Regions from separate parts of the Homo sapiens genome. Here region 2 is linked to region 1. Evidence: promoter capture Hi-C in 16 types of primary human blood cells and fetal thymus (Javierre and others, 2016). All regions are on one chromosome and are shown on one strand. Each heading gives the region's core, a stretch centred on a gene start or on the middle of the fragment in contact. The rest is flanking DNA. Distances are from core to core; before and after follow the strand shown.

Region 1 (4,061 bases), core at 751-3,250:
TGCTTCACCAAAGGGCCTTGACTACCGCCTACCCCAGTCCCGCCCCCAGCTTTAGGAAATGCCGAGGTCACATCTAGGGGGTCAGTTTCCACCAGAGCACGAGGCTTGCCCAACACCTCCCTCCCCAGAGGCTGGCAGACCTCAAAAACCCCAGAGCATGAAAGCCCCATGCCTCCCACCCCGGCAGAAAAAGGACAAACTACACCATAAACTACAGAGAGAAGCTAACTGGCTGCTGGGCAGTGTGAACAGACCTAAGGGTGAAAACCATTGCCCGAAACATTTTCAGCCCCACTCAGCAGGGACATGTGATTTACAGGAAATTAGGAGGTTTACAAAATGTTAGCAGCTCAAGTTTCTTCCCCGGGAAAAGAAGCAGGAGAAGCTCTAAGAACCGTATCCGAGAAAGTGCTTTGTTCACTGCTAAGCTTCTGACACGAGTCAGTTATTAATACCCACAGCTCACTGCCTCACACTTCAACCCACCAGTGAATGTCTATAGTGAATAATTATAAAACAATATATTACAAAACTCTAACACAGGCTGCACCAGAGCCTTCCGAAGCCCAGGACAGCCACGTGGCCAAAAGCATGGACTTCAGATATGATCTTGGGCAAGCTGTTGGCTCTTTTTCACCCCAGTTCCTCCATCCTTTACAATAAACAAAATCCTTCTGGAGGTGTCTTGTCAAGAGGTGTCTTGTCAAATGATGAGCAAATCCACTTCAAGTGCCTGGTCTTTGGAAGCCCTGTTGGTTGCTGTTATTACAGTGGAGTTTCAGAGCTCTTAAAGTCATATCTCCATCTTACTTCTGCTGCCAGACAAACCTCTGGAGGCCACGATTCCGAGCCTTGTCAGCCACCCTCTCTGGTCAGGTCCAGGACAGAGTGAGTCCTAGAGGAGCAAGGCCAGGGAGGTTCCACACCATCAGGGGCCATTGGGGAGTAGGGGCAATGGCAGAGCTCTATGATCAAGGCCCCAGTGGCCTTGATGGACTCTGTCCACCTCTCCAGACTCCACTTTGCCCCAGGCCAGAACAGACCTCAGCTCTAGCCAGAGTCTAACTGGGTGTCCAGTGTATACGCTGCGGCCAGCCAGACATTAACTCCTCTAGGCGGCCTTCTCTCACCTCCCACTCTGCAGTAGGGACCCCTAGGGGCTCCCACAACCCCTGGGCTTACCGAATCTCAGCACTTACCACACTGGCTTGTCACTTTGTGCTCTTGTCTTCCCCGCAGGGCAGGACTGGCACCGTGTCTGATGCCTCAGCCAGATCAGTTCAATGCATGAGCCCAGGCCCTAGTTGTGACCACAGCTCCAGCTCCCCAAACCTCCGGGGGCAGTGAAGGGTTGTTTATGAAGCAGGCTGCGTTTTATTATTCAGATGAATTTGTCAACTCCCTGGCGGATCCCTCCCCTCGTTAACGCCATCTTAAGGCGGGGGGGTAAAGAGTCCCCCACCCACCCACCCATCCCCCGCCGCCCCGTCCTGCCGCCCATCTATCCACCGGGTTCTCGCCCAGGCAGCCAAGGAACTGTAATTACCATGAAAGGGTCTCTCTGAGCGGCGCGCAGGCCCTCCCCACTGGGGTCTTGGTCGTGGCCGATTTCACGAACGCACACCGTTACGCGGGAGCCCGCGATGGGGGCAAAACGCCACGCACAGCCGGTCCCAGGGCGCACCCCGCAAGCGGAGAGCGCGGCCGAGCCCGGAGGGCGGCCACACCTCCCGCCCCGGAACAAAGCGACGGCCGGGGCGAGAGGCGGCGCGGCCGGGCCCCCTCCCCTCCAAGGCCGCCCGACCACTCACCGCGCGCTCCAGCCCCGGCTCGGCTACGGCACTCAGGCCGCCCCCTCCTAGCCTGCGCCGGTGAGGAGGCAGCGTCGCGCCCGCCGGGCCCCGCGGCCGCCGGACTGACGGCTCCCCGCCAGCCGGCCACTCCGGTCCGTCCCCGCCCCGGCGCCTCCTTAAAGCGACCGCGCCGCCAGCGTGCGCCCCGAGCGCCTAGCGCGCCGCGCATTCCTTATATTGCCACAGCGCCTGCTAAAAATAGAGCGCCGCTGCGGGCGCGCCAGTGGGGAGCCCGGGCCGGGTGCCTCGACCCTGTCGCCCCCGCGTGCACCCCGGCCCCCAGGACGCGCGCCTACGAAGTCCAGCCCACCCGCGCCGAGTCCCCTGGGCCCGGCAGGGCGCGCTAGAGCGCCAGGGGCTGGGGTCGGCGCCGCAGCCTCTCCCGCGGCCCAGCACTTACCCGGGTCAGATCCGTGGTGCCGGGGAGCTGGCTTTAAGGTGGACGCCGAGTGGGAATTCGACTCGGCCTCTTTAAGAGCCTCTGCGCTCCAACCTTTAAATCTCCGCTCCGGCCGGGCCAACTTCTGAGCCTAGGGACGCCTCCCCAGTCCTAGGCGAACCTCCGCCGCCACCTTAGCTGCATTCCCTTCGAATCCTGAGACGTCTTTCTTCCAGATCATGCCCCAGCGTCTCTCCCCGCAGGCCTTCTGGGTGCACCGTTCCAGGGCCCAAACTTCGTTGGGATGGATGCGACGGGGACAGGCGACACTCGCGCACCATTTCATTGTTTCAGTTCCGCTAACTCCTCTCCAGCGGCGTCATTTTCCCCCCGTTAAAAAAATAAAGATATAATTCAACACCATAAAATTCCACCTTTTGAAGTGTACAATTCAAGCCGGGCGCGGTGGCTCACGCCTGTAATCCTAACACTTTGGGAGGCCGAGGCGGGTGAATCGCCTGAGGTCAGGAGTTCAAGACCAGCCTAGGCAACATGGTGAAACCCCGTCTCTACTAAAAATACAAAAGTCAACCCGGCATGGCGGCACGTGCCTGTGATCTCATCTACTCGGGAGGCTGAGGCAGGAGAATCACGTGAACCCGGGAGGCAGAGGTTGTAGTGAGCCGAGATTGCGCTACTGCACTCTAGCCTGGGCAACAGAGTGAGACGCTGTCTCAAAAAAAAAAAAGTGTACGATTCAGTGGTGTTTAGCATATTCACAAAGTTTTGCAACCATCACCATGAGCTAATTCCAGAACATTTTCACCACTTCCCACTCCCCTCCCCTGCCCCTCACAAAAAGAACTACCCGTTAGCAGTCACTCCTCATTCACCCCTTTCCTCCGCCTCTGGGAACCACTAATCTACTTTCAATCTCTATGGATTTCCCTATTCAGGACATTTTCTATAAACGGAATCATACAACATGTGGCCTTTTGTGACTATGACTAGCTTCTTTCAGTAACCAATGTTTAATGATCTATTCATGTTGTAACATGTAGCAGTACTTCATTCCTTTTCATGACTGAGTAATATTTCACTGTATGTCTATACGTTTTGTTTATCCCTGCATCACTTGATGGATATTTAGTTTTCTGCTTTGGGGCTACTGTGAATAAAGCTGCTATGAATATTCATGTACAAGTCTTTGTATGAACATATGCTTTTCTTTCTCTTGGGTATATACCTAAGAGTGGAATTCCTGGATCATATGTTAACTCCATGTTTAACTTTTGGGGGAACTGCCAAACTGTTTTCCAAAGCAGCTGCACCATTTTACATTCCCACCAACAACATATGAGGGTTCCAATATCTCCACATCTTTGCAAACACTTGTAATTGTGTGTCTTTTTTTATTCTAGTCATCCTATTGGGGGCGAAATGGCATTTCATTGTGGTTTTGATTGTCAGCATCATTTCTGAGGACATTCTTTTTCTGGGTGGACCTCAATGACTTAGAACCAGCTTTACATGTCCAGGGAACCCACTCCCTTCTCAGGTTTGCCCCAGGCCTAAGGGAGCCTCACAGTGCTGCTGGCTCTGCCTGCCATGCTGAGGCTCTTAATCCCATGCAGGCTTCCTTTGGCATCCCAGCCACCCATGCAGCCATTTGGTGGGAGCTGCTGTGCACCCCCTGTGCCTCCACTCCCACCTGCTGCTCCAAAGACCCTGTAGACCCCAAGTGTCCCCCAGGAAGGGGACAGCAGGTTGGGTGCCATCAAGAGTATCTCTCCTTGGCAGTAGGGAGTAAAAGACCTGGTTGGGGAGAA
Region 2 (4,061 bases), core at 516-3,015, 970 kb before region 1:
CTCTGTGGTGATGGGTCCCTTCCTTGTATGTCAGTCTTATGAAGACTGTTTCATGTCTAAGTGACATTTTAAAAATCAACTTTATTGAGGTGCAACTGACACATAATAAAACGCATCCATGTTAGATGTACCCTTTGGTAAGCCTTGGGGAATGTATACAGCTGTTGTACAGAACACTCCCATCACTCTAGGTACCCTGCTCCCCTTCCCCATCAGTGCTCCACCCCAGCCTTGCCTCTGAGCAGCCACGGAGCTACTTCCTGTCATTATAGAACGGATTTGTCTTTTCTGGAGATTCATATAGATGGAATAACCCAGCATGTACTCTTCGATGTCTGATTTCTTTCACTCTGCATGATTTTGAGATTTATTGTGTATACAGGTTGTTTATTGATTTCACCAATGAGTTAGTATTCCATTGTGCCAATATGTCATGATTTATTTATTCCTTCACCTATTGATGGACGTGTGGGCTATTTTTAGGTTTTTGCTATTATGAATAAAGCTTCTATGACTATTTGCAAAGGAGACTTTATACAGACAAATGTTTTCATTTCTCTCAGGTAAATATCCAGGAAGGAGATTGCTGGGTCATATGATAAGCCTCTGTTTAACTAGATAAGAAACTGCCAATCAATTTTCTAAAATGGTCTTATTTTTTGCAACCCACCAGCAAAGTATGAGGGTACTAATTGCTCCACATCCTCATCAGCACAGAATCTTCTGTCTTTTTAATGTTAGCCATTCTAGTGGGAGAGGAGGTGGTGATATCTCATTGTAGTTTACTTTGAATTTCTCTATGACTAATGACATTCGGCATCTTTTCATGTGCCTGCTGCCCATTCTGATATCTTCTTTTGTGAAGTGTTTGTTCAAATCTTCTGCTTTTTTTAAGTTGTCTGTATACTTAACATTGAGTTAATTCCCTCCAGTTTATGGCCTGCCCTTTTGTTTCTTAACAGTGAAATTTGAAAACCAGACTTTTAAAAAATCTCTCATTAGGGTACTTCTTAAATGTGACTATTAGGCCATGTAAGAAGGGCCAGTTCTCCTCACCCTGCCTCACTCCAGGGTTGCCCAGGTTCTCCTTTATCGCACGAGTTCTCAAAGGAGAGAAGCTGGCTGGAAAAACCGCCTCTGCGTCAGCTGAGAGGAGCCCACAGAGGCACTCTGCTTCTTCCCTTGGCCTAAAGCAAACAGGAAGGCACAGCTCTGGGGGCTCACGATAGGGACCCTGTTGAAGCTGCTGAGTCTTCAGCCACTCGAACCAGGTCCTACCTCGGTGCCAGGCCTTGGGCCATGATGCCCTTCACAGGCATCTTCTGGCTGACTCCTCACTGCCACCTGTGAGGTGGAGTCACTGTTCCCCTTTGATGGATGAGGAATCGGAGGCACAGACTAGTATGTCTGTTGGGAGACAGAAAATGTCTTTTTGACAAAGCGAATTTCATATAAGGCACTGTTAACCAGGGCTTGCAGAACAGAAAGGCAAAGGGGAATGCTGAGACATCAGAGGTAGTAACAGCAGGAATATATGAAGCCCTCTTACAAGTCAATAATAAGGAAGTAATCTAATTGTTTAAAATAGGCAAATGATTTGAGCAGACACTTCAAAGAAAATACAGGGATGGCAAATAAGCACATGAAAAGATCCTCAGGGTCAGTAACAGCCCCTAGGGCTGAGGGAACAAGGGTGAGAGTGTGGGCTTATAAAGATGTGGACACTTGGGAGGGGGCTGCAAGGCTGAGGCCCAGATTTCTGAGGGGGTGTCTCTCAGAGGACCCCATGGGACAGGTCTGCGAATGGGGAGGAAACTGACAGCTGGAACCAGCGGCTGCTGCTGGGGTGCAGGGCCATTGCATTGCTGGGGTGTTGCCAACAGAACAGGAAACAGACACAAAGGAGCTGACCCCTTCTCCATCCACCAGTGTTGCAGGCTCCCTCTAGTGCCCCCTCTTGGCAGAGCCTAACAAGGAGTTCTGGCAAGGCATACTGGTGATTTGTGGGATCCCAGAACATCACAGAGGGACGCTGGTTTGAAGCTGAGAGACAATGGCTTAATAACGAGCACCACAAATAAAGTCATTTGCCCAGCGAGTATAGCTAGTAAGTGGCAGAGTTTTTAACCCAGGAGCATATGACTCTGAGGCCAGTGCCCAGGTGGGGGTTAGAAGGAAACACTGGACAGGTGCCAGCCCCAGAGGCCGGGCTGACAAGTTTGGTGTGTTGGGCACTGGAGCAGGGGCAGAGGGCTGGGCAGGCAGCATCATAGTGAATACCAGGGACCCACCACGGGTCCTAAGCATGGAGCCAGGGCTGCTGAGGAAGCCGAGCTGGAGCAGTTGTGACACTGGGGTATGTGGGGGACACCGTACATGCTGCTGAGCTGGATCCCCATCTCAGCCCAGATAGGCAGGAAGACAACCAGAGTAAACTGAGGTCCTGGCTCTGGGCTCTGCACCCATGGGTCCTGCGATGCCCCTGCCTGCCTGAGTCAGGAGCTCCAGCCAGGGACAAGAAGAGCAGAGCCCAAGGAGCTGGACATTCACACCTCTCTCCTCATCTCAGACACAGCACCCTCTTTTTTGGCCAAAACCTTCCCAGGACAAAGCCATTGAGGTCCCAGATGGAACATTCCAAGATTTATTTGCAGTTTTCTTCTGAAACTAGCTTCTCTACTGTGGTGACCATGAGCCAGCCACCATTCCACCTCTGTGAGTCCCTCTTTGAGTCGCTGATTCCTAGAGAATGAGACCACACCCCAGTCTCAAAAGGTGTTGGGATGAGCTCTTGCATTGAAGTGTGAGTTGCTTTTCCCTCGCCCCTGCCAAATCCTCCAGCCTTCCCCAGGCAGGTCCATCCTGGGTGGTCAGCAGCAGGAGACTCCCACCTGTGTGCCTTGTTCCTCCCCTTTCAGTCGTCCTCTGGATATGCAGCTGCTGAACGGCGATCCCGGGCCCACATCCACATGTGGAATTCCTCTGAGCCAGCCTTCCACTGGGGAGACCTGTACCCCAAGCTTTCAGGTCCCCTAATGACTATCTCTCCTCTCTATGATGGGGCTGCACCTGGTCTGATCTCTAAGCTGTGGTACACCCAGGGATTAGGGGCACTGGCTTTGTATCCAAACAGCTGTAGGTTAAAACCCTAACTTTGCTGTGGGCTAGTTGTGGGACATTGGGCAAAGTACTCAATCTTTCTGTGTTTTATTTTATTGTTTGTCAAACCTATAGGCTAACATTAGTATGCCCACCCTCAGTGATTTATTAGGAGGCTTGGATGAGTCCAGGCATGACAGCCCTGGCACAGTGCCAGGTGTCTGGCCACTACTCAAGCAACGGAGCTGTTGCAATTAGAGTCGGCTTCAGATCTGGGGCTTCTAGGGTCTCCTTTGGTCCTCCACTCACCTCTAGGGCATAAACATCGTCTGTGCTTTTTAATTTCCCACACTAGCCCAGCAGGGAATTGCATCCCCTTATCTATGTCCCCTCCCCATCCAGCCCTTCCAGCTACAACATCAGCCTCTCATTCCCTGGCAGGGCTCAAGCTGTTATGATCTGGCTTTGGACAAGAGGAGCCGTTGATCCCCTCATGGACATCTTGGGCACTGGGTTCATCCAGGTGCCTCACTGCTCAGCAGCTCGTGGACAGGCCCTCTGGCCTGTGGCTTGTGGGCCTGTTGGACTGTAGTCCCAGCTGGCTCTCTTCACGTGCTCCAGCATCCGTGGGCAGCGCGATGCCTGCCTTCTCCGCTTTGATCAGGGCAGGGGGCTGCTCAACAGTTAGTTTGGGACCATCTCTGTGATGCATTTTGACAGACTTGGCCAAGCATATGCTTTAAATCCTAATGAGAAAGGGTCTTTTTAAGTAAAGGGAGCCCACAGCAGCCTTCAAAGCGCTCTCTGGACAAACTAGGGAGTATGATGAACCCTGGCTCTGTATCATCCTGCAGCCTAGTGTGCAAATGCAGTGCAAGAGAGGACCTCTAGCTTGTCCTTCAGTCCAAATGGGTGACAGCAGAGTTGAGTCATGGCCTGACTCAGCCACACCTCCACCAGGT

What was found. The method cuts DNA at HindIII sites, captures the fragments that hold promoters and counts their contacts. A CHiCAGO score of 5 or more calls a contact.
Region 2: a fragment that was not itself captured here is called in contact with the fragment with the promoter of MRAS in region 1 in 1 of 17 cell types (naive CD8 T cells); the score reaches 5.3 in naive CD8 T cells.

Annotation. Positions count from the first base shown.
Region 1 is chr3:138,346,518-138,350,578 of GRCh38, reverse strand. MRAS (muscle RAS oncogene homolog) reads right to left here and starts at 2,000. Exons shown (of 6, transcript NM_001085049.3): 1 at 1,812-2,000. RefSeq lists an enhancer at 1,533-2,488. The HindIII fragment of the contact is 4,446 bases long and covers 431-4,061 here.
Region 2 is chr3:139,317,862-139,321,922 of GRCh38, reverse strand. The region is part of intron 1 of LOC124909439; the gene reads left to right. Among named protein-coding and RNA genes, the nearest start is that of MRPS22, 24 kb to the left of the region's middle. The HindIII fragment of the contact is 2,515 bases long and covers 508-3,022 here.